Linked DNA regions of Homo sapiens: all the other regions are linked to region 7. Evidence: promoter capture Hi-C in 16 types of primary human blood cells and fetal thymus (Javierre and others, 2016). All regions are on one chromosome and are shown on one strand. The core of a region is centred on a gene start or on the middle of the fragment in contact, and the rest is flanking DNA. Distances in the headings are between cores, read along the strand shown. Region 1 overlaps NSA2 (NSA2 ribosome biogenesis factor). Region 2 overlaps POC5 (POC5 centriolar protein). Region 3 overlaps POC5 (POC5 centriolar protein). Region 4 overlaps GFM2 (GTP dependent ribosome recycling factor mitochondrial 2). Region 5 overlaps ANKDD1B (ankyrin repeat and death domain containing 1B). Region 6 overlaps LOC441087 (a long non-coding RNA gene). Region 7 holds the start of ANKRD31 (ankyrin repeat domain 31).

What was found. Contacts are between HindIII fragments. The CHiCAGO score rates a contact against its expected background, and 5 or more counts as called.
Region 1: a contact is called between a fragment that was not itself captured here and the fragment with the promoter of ANKRD31 in region 7, in 1 of 17 cell types (total CD8 T cells). The highest score is 5.5, in total CD8 T cells.
Region 2: a fragment that was not itself captured here is called in contact with the fragment with the promoter of ANKRD31 in region 7 in 3 of 17 cell types (neutrophils, total B cells and naive B cells); the score reaches 7.6 in neutrophils.
Region 3: a contact is called between a fragment that was not itself captured here and the fragment with the promoter of ANKRD31 in region 7, in 3 of 17 cell types (neutrophils, naive B cells and total B cells). The highest score is 9.1, in neutrophils.
Region 4: a contact is called between a fragment that was not itself captured here and the fragment with the promoter of ANKRD31 in region 7, in 2 of 17 cell types (naive CD4 T cells and naive CD8 T cells). The highest score is 6.0, in naive CD4 T cells.
Region 5: a contact is called between a fragment that was not itself captured here and the fragment with the promoter of ANKRD31 in region 7, in 5 of 17 cell types (total B cells, neutrophils, naive B cells and 2 more). The highest score is 9.4, in total B cells.
Region 6: a fragment that was not itself captured here is called in contact with the fragment with the promoter of ANKRD31 in region 7 in 1 of 17 cell types (naive B cells); the score reaches 5.7 in naive B cells.

What each region holds. Positions count from the first base shown.
Region 1 is chr5:74,775,338-74,778,037 of GRCh38, forward strand. It overlaps NSA2 (NSA2 ribosome biogenesis factor), which reads left to right. Exons shown (of 6, transcript NM_014886.6): 6 at 1,267-2,700. The coding sequence ends at 1,334. It overlaps FAM169A (family with sequence similarity 169 member A), which reads right to left. Exons shown (of 13, transcript NM_001376049.1): 13 at 2,237-2,700. Among named protein-coding and RNA genes, the nearest start is that of NSA2, 9.4 kb to the left of the region's middle. The HindIII fragment of the contact is 2,857 bases long and covers 1-2,700 here.
Region 2 is chr5:75,705,626-75,708,325 of GRCh38, forward strand. POC5 (POC5 centriolar protein) reads right to left here. Exons shown (of 12, transcript NM_001099271.2): 3 at 2,112-2,250; 4 at 79-162. Among named protein-coding and RNA genes, the nearest start is that of POC5, 10 kb to the right of the region's middle. The HindIII fragment of the contact is 2,215 bases long and covers 176-2,390 here.
Region 3 is chr5:75,685,481-75,688,280 of GRCh38, forward strand. POC5 (POC5 centriolar protein) reads right to left here. Exons shown (of 12, transcript NM_001099271.2): 10 at 1-4. Among named protein-coding and RNA genes, the nearest start is that of POC5, 31 kb to the right of the region's middle. The HindIII fragment of the contact is 4,211 bases long and covers 1-2,800 here.
Region 4 is chr5:74,758,171-74,760,870 of GRCh38, forward strand. It overlaps GFM2 (GTP dependent ribosome recycling factor mitochondrial 2), which reads right to left. Exons shown (of 21, transcript NM_032380.5): 4 at 1,199-1,256; 5 at 679-776. Among named protein-coding and RNA genes, the nearest start is that of GFM2, 7.6 kb to the right of the region's middle. The HindIII fragment of the contact is 4,143 bases long and covers 1-2,700 here.
Region 5 is chr5:75,666,477-75,669,176 of GRCh38, forward strand. It overlaps ANKDD1B (ankyrin repeat and death domain containing 1B), which reads left to right. Exons shown (of 14, transcript NM_001276713.2): 12 at 316-517. Among named protein-coding and RNA genes, the nearest start is that of POC5, 50 kb to the right of the region's middle. RefSeq lists an enhancer at 503-1,004. The HindIII fragment of the contact is 2,666 bases long and covers 118-2,700 here.
Region 6 is chr5:75,726,059-75,728,758 of GRCh38, forward strand. The region is part of intron 2 of LOC441087 (a long non-coding RNA gene); the gene reads left to right. Among named protein-coding and RNA genes, the nearest start is that of POC5, 10 kb to the left of the region's middle. The HindIII fragment of the contact is 802 bases long and covers 1,011-1,812 here.
Region 7 is chr5:75,235,606-75,238,305 of GRCh38, forward strand. ANKRD31 (ankyrin repeat domain 31) reads right to left here and starts at 1,273. Exons shown (of 26, transcript NM_001372053.1): 1 at 978-1,273. The coding sequence starts at 1,081. LOC124901006 (a long non-coding RNA gene) reads left to right here and starts at 1,433. Exons shown (of 2, transcript XR_007058823.1): 1 at 1,433-1,761. RefSeq lists an enhancer at 994-1,163 and a silencer at 1,214-1,513. The HindIII fragment of the contact is 5,895 bases long and covers 1-2,700 here.

The DNA of each region.
Region 1 (2,700 bases), core at 145-2,644, 460 kb before region 7:
GGGCGCAGTGGCTGACACCTATAATCCCAGCACTTGGGGAGGCCGAGGCAGGCGGTTCACTTGAGACTGGAGTTGGAGACCAGCCTGGCCAACATGACAAAACGCCGTCTCTACTAAAAATACAAAACAATTAGCCAGGTGTGGTTGTGGGTGCCTGTAATTCCAGCTACTCGGGAGGCTGAGGCAGGAGAATCACATGAACCTGGAGCTTGCAGTGAGCTGAGATCATGCCACTGCACTCCGGCCTGGGAGACAGAGCAAGCCTCCATCTCAAAAATAAGTAAAATAAAAATATTTTGATCTTTTTTAATAAAAATTCTTTATTACAAGGGAAGCAGATGCAAAGTTATAACTAAAAAAAATTGTAAAAAAAAAATAGAATAAATTAACCATGAGCCGAGGGAGGCATACAACATATAATCACACTAGATCAGTAATAATTAAAACAGAAATGTGTCATGCAGTAATTTTAAACGCCCTCATTTGCTTAGTTTTCTACCTTTAGTACCCAGATCCAATTTCTTTGAAAGGGAAGAATACACGCTACAACTTCTTCAGTCATTGGTTTATACTTCATGTCAGCTGACCTCAGTTTTAAAATATGTTGTTACCTTGACTTGAAACTCATTTGAAACTTGATACATTTTCCAGGAAGAATTATGTGAAAAAGTGACAATGCTCAGGTCAATCCACAAAAGCCTGTTAATGCAATGTACTAATAACATGGAGCTGGCCATTATTTGCAAAAACACTATTTGTATGAAAATTGTATTCAGAACTCAAATTTGTCCTTAAATGATTGAATTTTGTAAAATCTCATTTATCCTTTATGGTTCATTTCTTATTTATTGAAAGTGGTAATTAGAAATATTTTAGGCATGGCTGGGCGCAGTGGCTCACACCTATAATCACAGCACTTTGGGAGGCCAAGGCAGGCGGATCATTTGAGCTCAGGAGTTCGAGCCCAGCCTGGGCAACATGGCAAAACCACATCTCTACAAAATACAAAAACAAAAAAATTAGCCAGGCAGTGGCGTGTGCCTGTGGTCCCAGCTACCCGGAAGACTGAGTGAGGAGAATCGCTTGAGCCCAGGAGGCAGAGGTTGCAGTGAGCCAGATCACGCCACCACACTGCAGCCTGGGGAATAAGAGTGAAACCCTGTATTAAGACAAAAAGAAAAAAAAGGCAAAAGTTATATTCTTTAAAATTAATTTTTATTAGCTAACAACCCTCCCTTTTCCCTTTTTTGGTTTTGTTTTCCTTAGGAAAATATGCCCAGGTTACCAACAATCCTGAAAATGATGGATGTATAAATGCAGTCTTACTGGTTTGACAGCAATTTCATATATAATTATTGAGGACTACACACCAATTGAAGAAACTGCCATTACTGTGATGTTTCTGAATACTACCAAACAGCCATACATGTCTGCAATGAAGAGATTTATTAAATTGTAAACATTAAAGTGGTCCAGTTTTATAAATGGTCTTTATTTTGAAATACGCTTTGACCCCATGTTCATAAAACTGAATGATTGAAAAAAAGCAAATATACAAATATCCTACTTCATCAATATCTGCATTTGTGAGTGGGTATTCAGCAATTTCCTGAAAAAACCACCAGTGTTCATTGAAAATGCCTTTCAAAAAGGTTAATACACAATTATGTGTCTGAGAATTTAACTGAAGTATCTTCAAAATCTCGTTAATCATTAATCCTAAAAAAGGTAGGTAGCATTAATACAGATGTTAAGTTTATAGTGTTTGTTTACACTAGAAGTATGTGAGAAGACACTAAAAGTTCAGAAATCTTAGAGAAATCTTTTCACCTGTGAAATCCAGTACAGCAAAGGTCTAGTGAATTCACATTCTAAACATTTTTTTCATCTCATTTACCATGTATAATAATACCTACTTGGCACTATTTTCTACTTGAATCATGAAAATGAAAAAAATATACTAAAGTCTTTGTACTCTCTTAGCATTTTCTGTATTCTAAACAATATATTTATACTTTCAGAATAGTATTAAGAATTAGTTTAAGTAACTCCAGCTAAGTTTTAAAAGGAAAAAGAAGACTGCACTGATTCCCTGAGGAGAAATTTATTTGCAGTTACTTAGATGATGTAAAAAGGTAAGGATTTACGGTTGTAACTTGGTGAAAGCACTTTTGTGATCTGTTATATGTTGTGGTTTTAAGGATGGCGTATATTACATTAATCTATAATCACCACATTGTTTTAAATTGTTTATTTTTTTTTTAAAGAAGTCTGTCTTCAGAGTACAACCAATGTGATTAATTGTGCCTTTAACAAAGTCATTCAATGTCTAAACAAATTCAGTATCTGAAACATCTTCATGAGGAAAACTGAAGGAAAGGAATTTAAAAACACAGACCAGGAAACAATCACAAAATATAGGTTTAATTACTACTTTTAAACTTAAAAAAAAATAAAAACCAAGAAAACAAACATAGGTACTCCAGTAAGACTTGCTACTCTGAATAATGTAACATTTTTTCTAAGTTCTATAAATATATACTGGAAGTTTTAGAACACATACAGACGCTTAGGAAAAGAAAGGCTAGTTCCTTGGAAATGACGATCCAGGATGATACAATCACTTGATGACAGAAGGTAAGCCTTTCTTACAATTAGATTTTAGCAGATAATTTTACCACTAATATAAATGGGTGATGT
Region 2 (2,700 bases), core at 33-2,532, 470 kb after region 7:
CCTCTTACTACATAGATAATATTCATCAAACCACAAAATGTTGTATATTAATACAAATAAGCTAAAGAAAAATCATACCATCTGTCTTTGAATGACTTGAAATATGGAAATCACATCCTTTTCCAACTTCTATTGCAGTTTCTCTTACTTCAGAGTTATTTCCTGCCAAAAAGAAAGCTTTTTAAAATTAAACTGAACCACTCTTAAATAAAATGTCTAATCACACATAATTTAAGAAGGTAGCAGTACATAATATTTTAGAACAAACAAAATACAACATGCTGGGGATATAGGAACACTAAAACAAAGGACAAGAACAGATAAAAATCTGAGACTAGAAAAAGACTTACTATATCATTGATAAGCTCCAACTTATGCACCAAATATAGATGAGAGATAATGTAGTCTACTATAGCATTCAATTCACACTAAGAGAATAAGTGGGTGAATGACATTAGAACTTAGAAAAGGATCTGCTCTCTTATGACACTGGGTATTTCCAGAGGCCCGCTGCTTTTCACTAGCCACAATCAAACTCAAGTGGCACTGGCTCCCCCAAAACATTTGCTTCCACTTCAGGAACCTGTAGTCAACAGATGGCAAAAAGGAAACTGGGAAAAACCTCTCAAGAATGACTGTTAGAGGCTTACACATACTTTGCCAATTTCCACATACCATGCCTTCTATCAAGCAACTGAGATACCAAGAATAAAGAGAATGTGGGATGATGAATTTACATAGAAGACTTTAACAAAGTCTACTTGTGAATCAAGATGACTAAAGGATATCTAAACTTACTATATAACGTATGTTTTAATCTCAAATCCTTTTTGGAAATGGCAGAGAATAAATAAATGCTATCTTACATAAGAGAAAAGAACAATGGTCTTAAATCCCAGATGATTACCTTGAACTGTTGACTACAGCATCTCGAAAGTTTTTTCTTTTTTTTTTTTTAAACAGAGTCTTGCTCTGTTGCCTAGGCTGAAGTGCAGTGGCATAATCATGGCACACTGCAGCCTTGAACTCCTGAGCTCATGCAATCCTCCCACCCCAGCCTCCCAAGGTGCTGGGACTATAGGCTGCTCTGCCCGGCTAATTTTTTTGTAGAGCTAGGGTTTTGCTATGTTGCCTAGGCTTGTCTCAACCTCCTGGGCTCAAGCAATCCTCCTGCCTCAGCCTCTGAAAGTACTGGCATTACAAGCATGAGCCACTGCCTGGCCTGTATTTTAAGGCTCTCATCCTGTGGTCCTGTTTGTTGTTCCACTGCAACAGGCCAAAGACAGAGGAACAGTGAAAAATCCACGTCTACAGAGAATGAGAGACAACAGACACTAGAGCTATGACTTAGCAGAAGCCCAGGAGCCTTTGGCCTCTGAGTAGGCTATGTCATGCGCCTTCAAGGACAGGGATCCTTGGAGTTACGCCTATAGTGTGATAACTGGTCCTTATCAGGACTGTTTTAGGAAGGCTTTCTGTGCCCTTTGAAAGAACATTTATTTAGAGTTTGGGATGTTGTCTTCACCTGAATAAGGAATGGAGGTAAAAGGAGCTTTATCCTCTTTTCTCCACTTTTCACTCATCTATCAACACACATCCTGGTTTATAGTAGCTTTCAGTTCTGTTGCTGACATGGTCCACAGATGGGTTCACCTTGTGATAATTATTCAAACAGTCCTCCATGCCCATATAAATACTGCTGATAAAGCACTAGCATGAGGTTTGTAAAGTAATTTAAGAGACTCTCAGGGTTACCATCTTTAATTTTAGTCTTGGGCATTTAGTTTTCAGGTTAATCCTGGCATAAAACTGTTGGAACAAGTACTGAGATACAACATACCAAAAAGCCATGCAGTTGCCATAGCATTGCTTCAACTTTATTATTCTTCATAAAAGTAAGAGTCAAATGAAGTTCAAAGAAAAATCAAGCTGTCACACGAGAGTCAGGAATAATATATTAAAATGTAAAAAGCTCCCCTAGATGATACTAATACACATAAATGGTTGAGAAGAATCACTGATCTGGACAGGCATTTTCACAATCCTGTCAGTATCATTAATAAACTCAGTAATATTTTAAATTAAGAGATATCTTGAAAAATATATATAACCTTGACTATGAAGAATATCATGAATTGTAGAAATTCTGACATCTGGCACCAATTCTCCCTTAGGATGAGATGACTGTGAAGCACAGGGTTCAATATTTGGAGTCACTATAGCATAATGAAGCAGTTCTTCATATTCTTCCTAAGAGAGGCCAATAATCAATAATGTAGTGTAACAGTTACAATGTTATAATATATTCAACTGAATTTGTTTTAAAGAAATTTAATTACCATAATAGAGTCCCATGCTTATTATATTACAAAGTTTTACCACTTATTCCAAGCTTGAGTTCCTCGAGTGCTTCTTGTGTGATTTTTATATTTATGATTAACAGTTTGAAGAGGGCTGGGTGCAGTGACTCATGCCTGTAAACTCAGCACTTTGAGAGGCTGAGGCAGGAGGATGGCTTGAAGCCTGAGCAACAAAGTGAGACCTCATCTCTACAATAAATTTTTTACAAAAATTTGCTAGGTGTGGTGGTGTGTGCCTGTAGTTGTAGCTACTCAGGAGGCTGAGGCAGGAGGACCACTTAAGCCTAGGAACTGGAAGCTGCAGTAAGACAAGATGGCACCACTGCACCCCAGCCTGGGT
Region 3 (2,800 bases), core at 243-2,742, 450 kb after region 7:
ATCCCTATAAATCACAAATTAATTCCATTCAAATTCTTCCAGGTTAGGACTACTATTATCTTCCAAACAATGAAAACACATACTGGCTAAAGTTTGGTCCTAACAAAAATTTAGATGTTTACAGTATATTAGATACAATGTTCAGTTAATACAGTTTGTCAGTATTAACTGGTTAATGTCAGCATTAACCACTAAAAACTTCAGACTACTTCCTTCCACATGTGAAAGCTAATGGATCATTTGTTCTTAAATAAAAGATGAAAATAAATTATGTACTCAGCTGGGACCTTAGCTAAGTAGAGTATATTGCCATCACAACTGTCACAAAAAATATGATCACAGTGAGCCTGGAGATCTAGGTTCCTTTGTATTAGTTCATACAAATATCCTGATAGATGGCCAAAATGACCTGCAATCAATCTTTAGAACCACTTTCTGATATCACTATACTCCCTCATTTTCATGTATTGCGCCTATCCTAACAATTTATTTTTGTTCTTGAGTCGTCAGAAAACAAAAATAAATCAATAAAACTAAAATCTTCACTTTTTACACTGTAAAAGAAATGGGTTCTTGCAGATAAATTATATAAATCATAAGAGCATATTTGTGCACCTAACTGATTTGTAGTGACACCCCAATCACTAACCTTCCCTCAAAACTGAACCTTAATCTTGATCTAAGGAGCCAATAATGTCAAATTCCAGGGCTAGTACAAAGGGTTTCTTCCAATTTTAGATGTTTTCGCTCCAGTATTATAATTTGGTTAGTTTCTGCTTAAGACTGTATCTGTGTGGTATCAAACAGTGTGGTGAGGGTTTAGAAATTCAGTCAATGAGCTGTTTCAGAACATCTGAACAGAGGGCATTATGTAAGTTGTATGTTTAAATGGTTTTCTATGTAGTTCTCTTTCCCTCCAGAAATTTGGGCCTCTGCATAAGTCCTTTCCTTAGACTATCTGTATAGAAAATTTGCAGAGTATTAGTTAGTTAGCTTATTTAAGAAGTTTAACAATGATTACAGTGCCTACCTAGATCCTTTGAACTCCTCTGATGAAAGGGACTAATTCAATATAAAATACTTTTAATTTGAAAACAAAACACACACTGAGTTTTAACTTGTTTTGGTAGAGATTCTGAGTGTCTATCTTTAGATGGTGGCAGACATTAGGAGATGTAGAAACAGTATGAAGGTCAGGGAAGAGAGGCAGGTGATCAACTCTTGCTAATATAGGCTGATATCAGATAACTCTTAAGTTTAATAATTAATCTCATTTTAGCTGGAATAAATTTTTCACTTGTCAAGTATTTTTTTTTACTGTGCCTAATTGGCACAGTAAAATTGGCAGATATAATTTTAAGGACTTTTTGTCATGTTCTAACTTCTTCATAAAAACCTCTAATTTGTAAGATTTAAGATACTGCACAACATGAGAGGTACTGCAAATTACAGACAGCAAAGAATCGGTACAAATAAAAAACCAAATATTTATTTTGCTCTAACAAGACAGATGCATTAGGAACTTTACATTATTAAAAACTGCATTATAAAAAACAATTTTTTTTTTTGTGAGATAGTCTCGCTCTGTCGCCCAGGCTGAAGTGCAGTGGCATGATCTCAGCTCACTGCAACCTCTGCCTCCTGGGTTCACGCCATTCTTCTGCCTCAGCCTCCTGAGTAGCTGGGACTACAGGTGCCTGCCACCACGCCCGGCTAATTTTTTGTATTTTTAGTAGAGACGGGATTTCACCATGTTAGCCAGGATCGTCTCGATCTCCTGACCTCGTGATCCACTCACCTCGGCCTCCCAAAGTGCTGGGATTACAGGTGTGAGCGACCGCGCCTGGCCTATAAAAAACAGTTGTTTTAATAGAAGGGGGCCAAAAGTAATTTTTTTTTCTTATGAGAACTAAAAAAAATAGGTGTCATTAAAATGTCATAAAACCTAAATATCACAAAGCAGATCCACTGAATTATACTGAACTTTTTTGCCTTTGGTAGCTCTACCAACATTATTGCTAATGCATGCTTTACCATTCTTGTCATCTTTCTCATCGATTGTTTCAAAAGTAACAGGAGCAAAAGAAATCATGTTGTGTAATTAGCAGAAGACATTTTCTTCAAATCCTCTTATGGATATTGGCCTTTAGGAGACACAGTTGCATTTCAATTTACATTTTAAGATGGTAAATGTATTAAGGTGGGAAATACTCCTAAGTCAATTCAAAATCTTTTTAAGTAGGTTATAAGAAACAGGTTTCTTGTAATTTAATGTAAGAAGTTCTAATAGGAATTTGTCACTTTACTTGTGAAACTCATATTTCTCCCAAGTAAACAATTAAATTTCTCAATTTGTGACACACAACTTGCTGATACTTAGAACTGAAACAGACTATTCTATCATTGAAGGTGGTGAGTTTGTTTTCAACCCTGATACTCAAATAAAAGACCATTTATTGGAAAAATCAAGTACTCACCTAGGTATTACCAAAATAAACTATTCAGCCTTGAGATTCCATGATTCTCAGTTTCTAAATTAAATATGGCCCACAAACCACAACCACTTCAGATAGAAAGCAATTTGCCTAAACTTACTCCTATCCACAATATGCATGCTTTAAATAATAAATGTTTGTTGATGTTTTAAAATAAGGGCATCACAAGCACAGAGAAGTTATTCATTGGATTGAAATCATGTTAATCATTTACAAAATCTTGAGACGTTGACTTGAATTAAAACTATTAATAATTACATCATGACTATCATCTTACACGTTAAAGTGCATTTTGTCTTTTAAAG
Region 4 (2,700 bases), core at 67-2,566, 480 kb before region 7:
GGTTACTTTTTTTGGTTCTTTTCTTCTAGAAACCAGATAACAGAGGTATGTCAACTACATTCCTAGGCAATATAACTTATGGAAAAAACAACTTCTGATTGGTAAACTAAATCTGAATTGCGAAGAACTATAAATGAATTATATATATAAGTACCTTATGGAGATACCGAACTCTGGGCTTCCCTGTGTATGGCATGTACCTTAGGTGACACCTGGAAGCTATGCCTATGAAGTTATAACAAGAGACATTCATTCCTATGGGGCATGAATCTTCTAAGCTAGGGTGGCTCCTATGAATCTTGTCACCTTGCATCTAATCCATTACTCTGGAGCAGCCAAAGAAGATAGCTCCCAGATAGCTACGGGGACTGCTATAAGGACTCTACTAGAAAGAAACACCTAATGCTGGTCTGTTGGTAAGCTGTGGTTCCTGTCCTGTAGCATTCTGAGTAGACGAGTGTCCAGTGGGGCCTATGATAGTCTTACAAGTCTGAATATTTAGTTGAATCTAAGAAGACCCTTTGGTGGGTATTGCAACTATCTTATCTTTAAATTGTGGATTAGACATCAGTAGCTCTATGCCATATTCAAGGTGTGTAAGTTGACTTGTTAACCAAAATATTTTCCAATGATGCTTTTGCTAATGGGGGGGTGGGAAGAGGAGGAATCCATTCTAACCTCCCAGTGATCTTGTATATCCGGAATAGTACAATATTCTTTCTGTGGTGGTAGTTTTGCCTGCATCAATATGAGCCATAATTCCAATATTACGGATTCTGTTTAAAAGGAAAAAATAAGGTAAACTTTACTAAAATTGTAAAACCAAAGTATATATGCTATCCAAATTTCAAAGCTGGTATTTCTATAATTTATAAAACTGTGTAAAAACTAGAAAAATGGAAAACATTTAGAGTATATCCACATTACTCTGATAAGATAGCTAAGTAACAAAAGGGCTAACTACAACCTACAATTTTGAGACTATCTTATATTCATTCTAGAAAAGTGTGCTGTTGTTACATTAAAAATTTTTAGCATTAATTGAGAAAAAATAGCTAAGATACATTATCAACATCTACTTAAAATTGGCTAGGGCAGAAAGTCATAGAAATTACAGCATTCACTCTTGTCCATCAGAAAAAACCTGTAAATTTTCGTGACAGTCTATGGAAAAGCATGATATAATGATAGTACTTACTTAGCTATGGGAGGATTGATGATGGAATGAAGGGATTTGATATCATTTCCTATTAAGCCTAATGAAAAGAAAGTTAAAATTGAACTGTTACATTTATGAAATTTTCCTTTAATTTATAAATGAAAGACTTTAAAATAACTTTAAGCAAATACTGTAAGTCCAAATAAAGTAAAATTCAAGCTAAATAAATCTAAAATAAACTAAAATTTATTTCCTTGCAATGTATAAGGAAAGCTATGGATGACAATAAAACAAGGTAAAAGTTTTAAACATCAAGTTCTAGATCATATCCTCAGAAAAATACAGATTCACCCCAATCTCTGCCACCTACTTCACTTCCATTTACAAAATTGTAGAACTAGAATAAATGCTCATAATAATAATCTTAAGGCAATGATCCTGAATCAAAGAAAAAATTTTAAATGCACAGTCCTATAAACCTGCCTTTTCCAGGGTTTGAAGAGCTAAGAGTGATCCTCATGTCAGCTGATAATGAATTATTATACAATTTGGAACTTGCCTTCCTCAGCAATCCCAGGACACAATACCTTTAAAGACTGCCTGGGAGGTTTCACTGAATAGAAGCTATAACAATTTAATACTTTTGAAAGGCCAAGCAGTATTTCTTAAATAAAAAAGTCCATATGGCTTATTCTATGCTTAATATATAGTTTACTAATATTAAGAAGTAATTTCTAAAGAAACAAGGCAGTTACATTTGTAAATTTAATTAAAGCCTTCCTGTTATTTAAACCATTTCTCCCATGTTTCTATAATACAAAAAGGAGAATTTTATATTATTTTTGAAACTTCATGGTGGTTTGAAGATCAAAAGATAATCTATACTACTACAGTTAAATTCATATTAGCCAAATTCAGAGACCTAGATACACACCAATAACGTAGCCCATTAAATTAATCTGCCCTTGTAAGTCAACAGCCAATCAGTATTTTTATTCTATTATTCTCACATGACAAACACAGTAATGAGAACAGCAACAGAATTAAACTAGTTTCATAGAGTCTACCATACACTTGCTTGTTTCAAACACAGAAAGGACATTCAAAAGTAAGTCAACTCCTCCACCTTCCAGCTTCTGATGCCATGTATCTAACCTAAACAATCCCAAATACTTAGCCAAACTACTTATAACAATCCTCAAAATAAATTATTCTAGTAAATCTCTCTTGACAGAAAACACTTGCATAAAAAACAGAAATAAACTAGAAAAAGAAATTCACAAGAGCACTCTACAATTACACTCACATGTTAAACTTGCAAACTAGCTACTAAAGCCACCAACCTTTCCTTTGCTCAGTTCATCAGCGTGTTCCTCAGATAAGGAGCACAACTCTACTAGTATTTCCTTCTGGCACCTATCTGAACACTCCCGCCCCTAATAATCTCAAGGAAATAGCCAAGAAGTAAAAAATGGTTACAGAGCCCTAATAAGGGAGATTCTTGCAAACAAGAGAGAGAAAAGAGATAAAGCAAACAGCTT
Region 5 (2,700 bases), core at 201-2,700, 430 kb after region 7:
TTGTTGTGACACATCCTTTGCCAAGACAGCCTCTCTGTTCTCATTCTCTGTTCTAAGCAGCATGGGACACAATAGGCAAAATCCCTCACATTTCCTGTGTCAGACAGACGGTACCCAAGCTTTTAATTTCAAGCATTTATTTCCATTTTGGATGGCAAAAAAAAAAAATATATATATGATCCAGTGACAGGAGGCATTGAAAACATAGTCTCGGTTACCACCTTACTAGTTATGTTTGAAAAACATATATACTCTGAAATAAGGTAATAAGTAGAACATGTCTGAAATCTTCTGATACAATTATTTTCACTTTAGGAGCATCATGAGAGCATCAGGGACCCGTCAACAGGCTTTACTCTGACATTCAAGCAAGATCACAGTCTGGAGACCAGACACATTCGCACGCTTCTCTGGGACCTGGCTTACCATCAGCTGAAGGCCAATGAGTGGCAGAGGCTGGCCCGTTCGTGGAACTTTACAGATGACCAGATTAGAGCCATTGAGGAGCAGTGGTCGGGTGAGTACAGACTAGATGATGTGGGCAGGAGGAATTCACTGTTAGGAACAGCAGTGCCTCCTGGTGTGAGGTCTTCCAAGGAAGTGTGTGGCACTCACAATAAGCTGCAGTCTTCAAGGGGCCCAGGAATAGGGGCAGTTAGCTTAGGTCCACACCAGTGATTTGGGCATTAAGATTTGCAGAAAGTGAACACTCATGGTCTGCAGTAAACCGAAGTTTGTAAAGGATGATTATGTGTATTGACCCATATCAGACATGTGCATTTAGCCTAGAGAGACAGTAAGATTCCCAACTGGACGGTCACTAAGGAAGCAAGCAAGGATTTAACAGTTGGTGTGTCAGTGGGAAGCCAATCTGATTTCTATGTTCCTTGAGACTGTCCTGGGGTGAATGGGTTCATTCTGTAATCAATAGGCTCGCTGTTTAAGTCTGCGCTCCAGAAAGAGGAATTCCTTAAAGCAGGTGGGTGTAGGAGAAAGGGTTGTTGTAGGACACTGCCTTAGGGGAGACTTGGCTGTGCCATGAGCGACACGGCAAATACAGACTCAGAGGGCTTTCTTGGCTAGATGATTCCAAGCAATGGAATCATTTCAGCTGGACTCAAACTGTCATAATTAGTGAAGTCAGGTCAGCTAGATTCCTTAATTTTGTTTTTTGTGGTTAGACGAAAACCTAGGAAACATAGAAAGTTTACTTGGCATTAATCAACTAATTAGCTTTGAAAACAATGAAGCAAACATGTTTCTTGGCAAAGTTTTCTATTCAGAGCACTGCCCTCTCATGGACATCCTAAGACGAGAAGGTGTCCTTGCTCAGGGGTCTATTTGTATTAGGGATTGCTGGGAACTGGGGATGGCAGAAGCACAGTCCATGAGCACACACTATTTATACCACATACAAGTAAATTATGAGACTTTGTATTGCACATTCTTAGGATACATTTTCATGTGAAAAATAGAAGATAATGTATTGAAAACATTGAATACTAACTAGTTTCTAACTAGAAAAATTTTTTTATTGTTAAGATTTCTTTTTTGTCATTAATTAGGCTTATAGTGTTCTGTGAAGTCTTTAGGAAAATTGAGTTGCCTCCTGGAACTCTAACTTGACCTAAAGAGATGACTTGAAAATATAGTGTATCTTCAGAGTACTTGCCAGCAGGATAAGGGGGATTTTAAAGTGTTTCGATGGAACCTTTATGGAGGGCCTGGAGTGTTTATTTCTGCTGGATGAGGGATAGATACATCAGCTCTCTAAGCCATGCATGTTTGATGGAGTTTATAATCTAGTTGGCACAATAACAATGACACTTGCAATTCAATTATATTGTGATCCAGGGTAAGGTTACTGGCACTGGGGAGTTTGTGGGCTTTTGATCAAAGGAGTGACAGACTCATGATGGTATTTAAGAAAAATTAGTTTGTCAAGAGCAAGATTAGGAAAGGAACAGAGGACTTGTCCAGGAGTACATTCTGTAAGTATGCAGTTCCCTCTCCCTGAAATGCCCGCTTCTCCATATCAGTCTGTCCAGTGAACTTCTCCCTCACCCCTGCAGAGCTCAGGCCCTTCCCTTGCACAGCATGTCTGCTCCTGCACACTCTCTCTCAGAGCAAGGAGCCTGTAGTGAAGTCCTGTTGGGAACCACAGAGGCTTTGTGGCTCCCTATCCCGGTACTTCCCCCAACACCTCTCTAGGCTGAGATATGCAGTGAGTATTTATCAAATGAATAATCCTGGCCCAGGGATGCAAACTTCCCTCAGAGTAGCTTCCTTGAGACTGGAGTGGCAGAATGAATGGTGCATGCTTGCTGCTCAGAGTGGGGAATATGGAGCAGCAGTGGCAGCAGCACCCGGGAGTTTGTTAGATGCATGGATTCTTACCCCAGACCTACTGAATCCAAACTTGCATTTTAGTAAGATACCCAGGTGAAATAAGCACTGTGAGTTTGAAGAGCACTGGTCTATGAGAAGTTGCATATTTCATTAAAATTGTTCCCCCTGGGCAGGCACCACAGCTGTCCTCTCTCTTGTACACTCCTTTGGGTGTGTGCCAAGCATAGCAGGTGCATAGCACAGGCTGGAGGGAAAGCAAATGCTGGTCATCATAAAGCAGCACAGCGAGGGCAACTGGAAGGGCTTTTTTCGAAGAGGAACAGGCAAGCAAACAGTCATTCAGAAAGTTTA
Region 6 (2,700 bases), core at 162-2,661, 490 kb after region 7:
ATTTATCTTTTGTGTTACAAACAATCCAATTACACTCTAGTTATTTTTAAATGTACAATTAAGTTATTGTTGACCACAGTCACCCTGTTATGCTATCAAATAGTAGGTCTTATTCATTCTTTCTATTTTTTTGTACCCATTAACTGTCCCCATCTCCCTTGCCAGCTCCTCAATACCCTTCCCAGCCTCTGCTAATCATCCTTCTATTCTCTATGCCCATGAGTTCAATTGTTTTGATTTTTAGATCCCACAGATAATTGAGAACATGCAATGTTTGTCTTTCTGTGCCTGGCTTATTTCACTTAGCATAATGATCTCCAGTTCCATCCATTTTGTTCAAATGATAGGATCTCATTCCTTTTCATGGCTGAATAGTACTTCATTGTGTATATGTACCACATTTCCCTTATCCATTCATCTGTTGATGGACATTTAGATTGCTTCCAAATCTCAGCTATTGTAAGCAGTGCTGCAACAAACATGGGAGTGCAGATATATCTTTGATATACTGATTTCCTTTATTTGGGGTATATACCCAGCAGTGGGATTGCTGGATCATATGGTAGCTCTAGTTTTAGTTTTTTTGAAGAACTTCCAAACTCTTCTCCATAGTAGTTGTACTAATATACATTCCCACTAATAGTGTACAAGGCTTCCTTTTCTCCACATCCTCACCAGCATTTGTTATTGTCTATCTTCTGGATATAAGCCATTTTAACTGGAGTGAGATGATATCTTTGTGGTTTTGATTTGCATTTCTCTGATGATGAGTGATGTTGAGCACCTTTTCATATACCCGTTTGCTATCTGCATGTCTTCTTTTGAGAGATGTCTATTAAAATATTTTGCCTATTTTTGATTAGATTATTAGATTTTTTTCCCATAGAGTTGTTTGAGCTCCTTATATATTCTGGTTATTAATCCCTTGTCAGAGGGGTAATTTGCAAATATTTCCTACCATTCTGTGGGTTGTCTCTTCACTTTGTTGATTATTTCCTTTGCTGTGCAGAAGCTTTTTAACTTGATGTGATCCATTTGTCCATTTTTATTTGTAAACCTTTATGGTGAACTCTGATGAAGAAATGTGCTATTTTATATAAATGTTTATGTTTAACTTTGATGAAGAAATGTACTATTTTATGTTGCAGAAGCACAGCCTTCTGTTGAATGATCTTTTAGAAGGAAGTCCCTTTCCTGTCTTGAGTCTTCATAGAATTAGCTTGCTTTCTTCTAAAAATATCTGCCCATCACTCTTATTTAGAATTCTTCGTTTTCTGAGACTGTTCATATATTAGGATGTTCTTTCCCCAGACTCCCTGTTTTTTCGTTTGCTCCTAATAAAGAATAGACTGTCTCTTCATTGAAAGATTTTTTAAAAAACATAAATAAATTATGATAAATAGATTGGAGTATAAAAACCAATCCGTTTGTATAAGTTACAAAAGTTCCTGAAGTGTCAAAAACCCTCATAGTAATTATTAATCATTTTCAATTTCCTGAGTTCTCTTCTGAGGTGGTAGATACTGACTCCAGTTTTTAGTTTGCGAATCAGCTTATATGTCTGGTGTATGTGCCAAACTAGTCTTACTGTAGCCTGGAGTTGATACAAGTTAGTTTTATGGATAGGTCTGAGAGATGGTCCCTTTGAGAATGTCCTTTCAGTTTCTACCTTGCAGGAATGGGTTATTCTTACCCCCATATGTTTCATTCCATTTTCCTCCCCTATGTAAACTTCCCCTCACCCAACATTGCTTGGGTCTCCTGTGTTCCCTAGTGTGCATCAAACTAACCTGTGTTGACCTAAAAGGAAGAAGCTTAAGCAAAATTAATATAAGTAGAGAGTTAATTTGGGCCAAGTTTGAGGATTGCAACCTGGAAGCATAGATTCAAGTTGTCCTGAATATACATTCCAGATAATAGCAGTTACAAGTAGATTTTTAAAGGCAGAAAGAGGGGGCAGGGAGTGGGCTGATACAAAGTCATCTGTCAGGAATTCTCATTGGTTTACAGAAATAACATTGACTGGTGATTGGCTAGACGTTGTTAAACTATAGGGTGTTGTTTATAGTGTCCGGTGTGGCATTAGGTTAATTTATAGCAACTTGTGGCAGTAGCAAGCAGTTTCAAGAGTTGAATACATAGCTCAAAGAAGGGAGTAGGGTGTGATTGCTGTCTCATTTCAATGCCTCTCTGGGCCTAATAATTTGAAAAGGCTTACATTCCTCAGATCAACCTTTTTTTTTCTTTCCTCACCTTGACAGTTTACTAGGACATGGGTTGCTGGGCTTCACTTTGGGAGTTTCTGATTAAGCAGGTTTGAAGTTGGGCCCAAGAATGTGCATTTCAAACAAGTTCCCGTGTGATATTGATGCTTCTGGCCACAGGGCCGCTTTGCCCTAGGTCAATTAGGGTCCTAGCTTCTAGCAAGAGCAGTATTCTCTGTGGCTCTAAGCTTCAGCATTGTTCACCCTATCACAATCAGGCCTCTCTGTAACTTTGCTCTAGACACTCCAAGCTTCATAGCTGGTTCCCTGGAGGTTGAAGTCAATTTCCTACTTAAACCCCAAAGACACTTTTCCAGACTTCTGATTGTAGAGTCCAGTTCTGACAGCTGTGCACGTTGGAAGTCTCCAGGGTTCTGGGCTTTTCAAGTCTCAACCTCTCTTCATTCCGGTTCCCTCTATTCGTTTCAGTTGCCAG
Region 7 (2,700 bases), core at 23-2,522:
CAGGGCTTTATGTTGCTTTCTCTCTCACCTCCCAGCCCTGCCCCAAGGCTGGCCCTAGCCTCAGAGCAGACACCAACCATGGCAACTGGGGAACATAAAACTCAAGAGAAAGTGTCTACCAGAGGAACTGGGAAAAGGGATCGGTATTGCCTGAAAAGTGTGGACAGAATCCCCCTTTTTTCTCTCTTTTCTTAACTCTGTGCTAAAGGCTGTCCCCCTTGTAAGGAACTGCTGTATAGTGAAAAGGCTAACACTCAAAGAAACCTGTCTTTCTGATCATATGAACTGGCAAGTGGGTATGATGAGGAAAGGGGGCAGGAGAATCCTGGAGAAGAGAGAGAGGGAAAGGAGAATGACCTAATTCTGTGTACGATCCAACTTAAGTCCCAGACACAGCCCTGAGCACATATGAAGCAGACCTAGTGGCCTCATCCCTGCCCTCTTTTCCCTGTGTCTAGCACAGAGAATATGTTAGAGAAAGGTTTCGATAACCTGAAATACCGACTTTTTTGGATTCGTATAAAACTATTCGTTTCCAGTTTGGCAGGGACCAGTTTCCCCATCACACATTCTTTTCTTGAGAGAAACTGTTACCCATTTTCCTAGAACTGAGCTACGAGTCTCTTGAAGCAAAATGAAGTCTCCTGAAACAAAATGCAGTTAAGTTCAGACCCAAGATCTTTTTTGCTTGTGCAAAAAGACTTAAAGCCCCCAAAAGGAAAGCCTTTTGAAAAATGCTATAAAGCCACCTAGTACAAACCTCATTTTATCCCTAGCTGGTTGGGGGTAGGTGGGAACAGACTGTGTTTGCTTATTTACAAGCTCTCAGCTCAGGCACGGCTGCCCCACAAGGCTCTGATCCTGCCCACAAGCACATGTTCTGGTCACGATCTCCACTCAAAACTCTGACCCCCTCAGAGGGCACCTGGGCCGCCCTGGCGCGAGGGTTCAGGCACTGTGGCCCTAATGATGGTCACCTTCTCCAGGGCAGCTCCTTTTCTTCCAGGTCGCTCTCCGTCACTGAACCCTCTATCACAGTTTCATCACTGTCCCAGTCTGGGGCCTGGACGCCTTCCTCCATCTTTGCCTCACATTCAAAGTCTTTTTTACCCTCCTCTAACTCCCTCTTGCCCGCAAACAAAAAAACGCTTTGAGGGCCAGGGGAAATTGTGAATTAAAAATAAAAATAATATAATCGCAGCAGGAGCCGGGACTTGTCGCAGGGCTGCTGAGGAGGACGCAGGCGGCCGCGAGCGCGGCGGGGTAGCAGTCTGCGAGGCGGCCCGCGGGTCCCGCCGCTCGTCGCAGACAGGGGGCAGCCGCTCGCCACACGACGGAGCCCTGCGCAGCGCTCGGCCCCGCCCCCAGCTCCCGTGGCCGGAAGTGGGAGGCCGCGCGCGCGCGCGCAGGCCTACTCTGGGCGTGGCCTGCCGCTGCGTGTTTTTTTCACGGTTTCTCATTCTCGGTCGCTAGGCTTTGAGGGTGCTGGGGTTGCTGCTGCAGAGACCAGAAAGGCAGGCGTGGCGCACCCAGAACTCAGACCGAGCCTGCTTAACACCCTTGGCCGGGAGGGTGACCTGCCATGCACCTGATGCTTGTGAGCCCCAGATACGGGAAGAGCTGTCAGCTCCTGCCCGCCCCAGCAGCCCTGGCATTCTGGAGCCAGAATGCGACCTTAGACCTAAAGAGAGTTTTTGCAGCCCACCAAGTGCTTCCTTTCCCTTTAATCCCTTGACAGCCTCTCCTCAAGTGTCCTCTGAGGTAGACAAAACAGATACGTTTATCAGAAGTTTTAGCTCATCAACTAATCTCAGTGATGTATTTTGCATTTTTTTTTTCTCTCAACAACGCTTTGGTTACCTGAAATACAGATTATGCAGGAAAGGCAGGATAAATGCTTTATTTTTTCCTCTTTTATCAATTTTTATAATAATAGTAATGCCTAGCAACCTCCAAAAGTAGTCAATTGCGTTTTAATGAAGTACTAGAATTTTATATATTTGATGTGTTTCAGTCTAGTTGAACATTTTTAATTCAAACTAATTCAAAACAAAGCCAAGTGAGCTTCCACTTGCCAAGTGAGAAGAAGATTCAAGAAAAGACCAAGTTGTTTTCCCATAGCAAGTGTTTAGTATTCACCTTGGAGTCTCCAGCATCTAGCACATATAAAGTCTAAGTTTTGTCATAAATGGATGGAGCTAGAGATTTCTGACTTCCCAATTCATTGCCCTTTTCACTATATGGAGTAGCTTTGCCATTATTATCATTATTATTATTTTGTGTTTTTACTATGTATATTCAAGCCACTGCTATTTAAAATGCTTGATTGGTGATTATCTTCTAAACTTAACTTGAGGCTGGGGGTGGTGGCTCTACCTGTAACCTCAATGCATTGGAGGCCGAGGCAGGAGGATTGCTTGAGACCAGAAGTTCAAGACCAGCCTGGGCAACATGGTGAGACCCCTATCTCTGCAAAAAATTTGTTTTTAATTAGCAGGGCATGGTAGCATGGGCCTGTAGTCCCAGCTACTCAGGTTGAGGCGGGAGGATCGCTTGAGCCCAGGAGTTTGAGGTTATAATGAGCTATGATTGAGCAAACGCACTCCAGCCTGAGCAACAGAGTCATACCATGTCTCAAAAAATAAAAAAATAAACTTACTTGAATAAGTAACTTACTTAAATAAAATTCCTCGCCTCAAC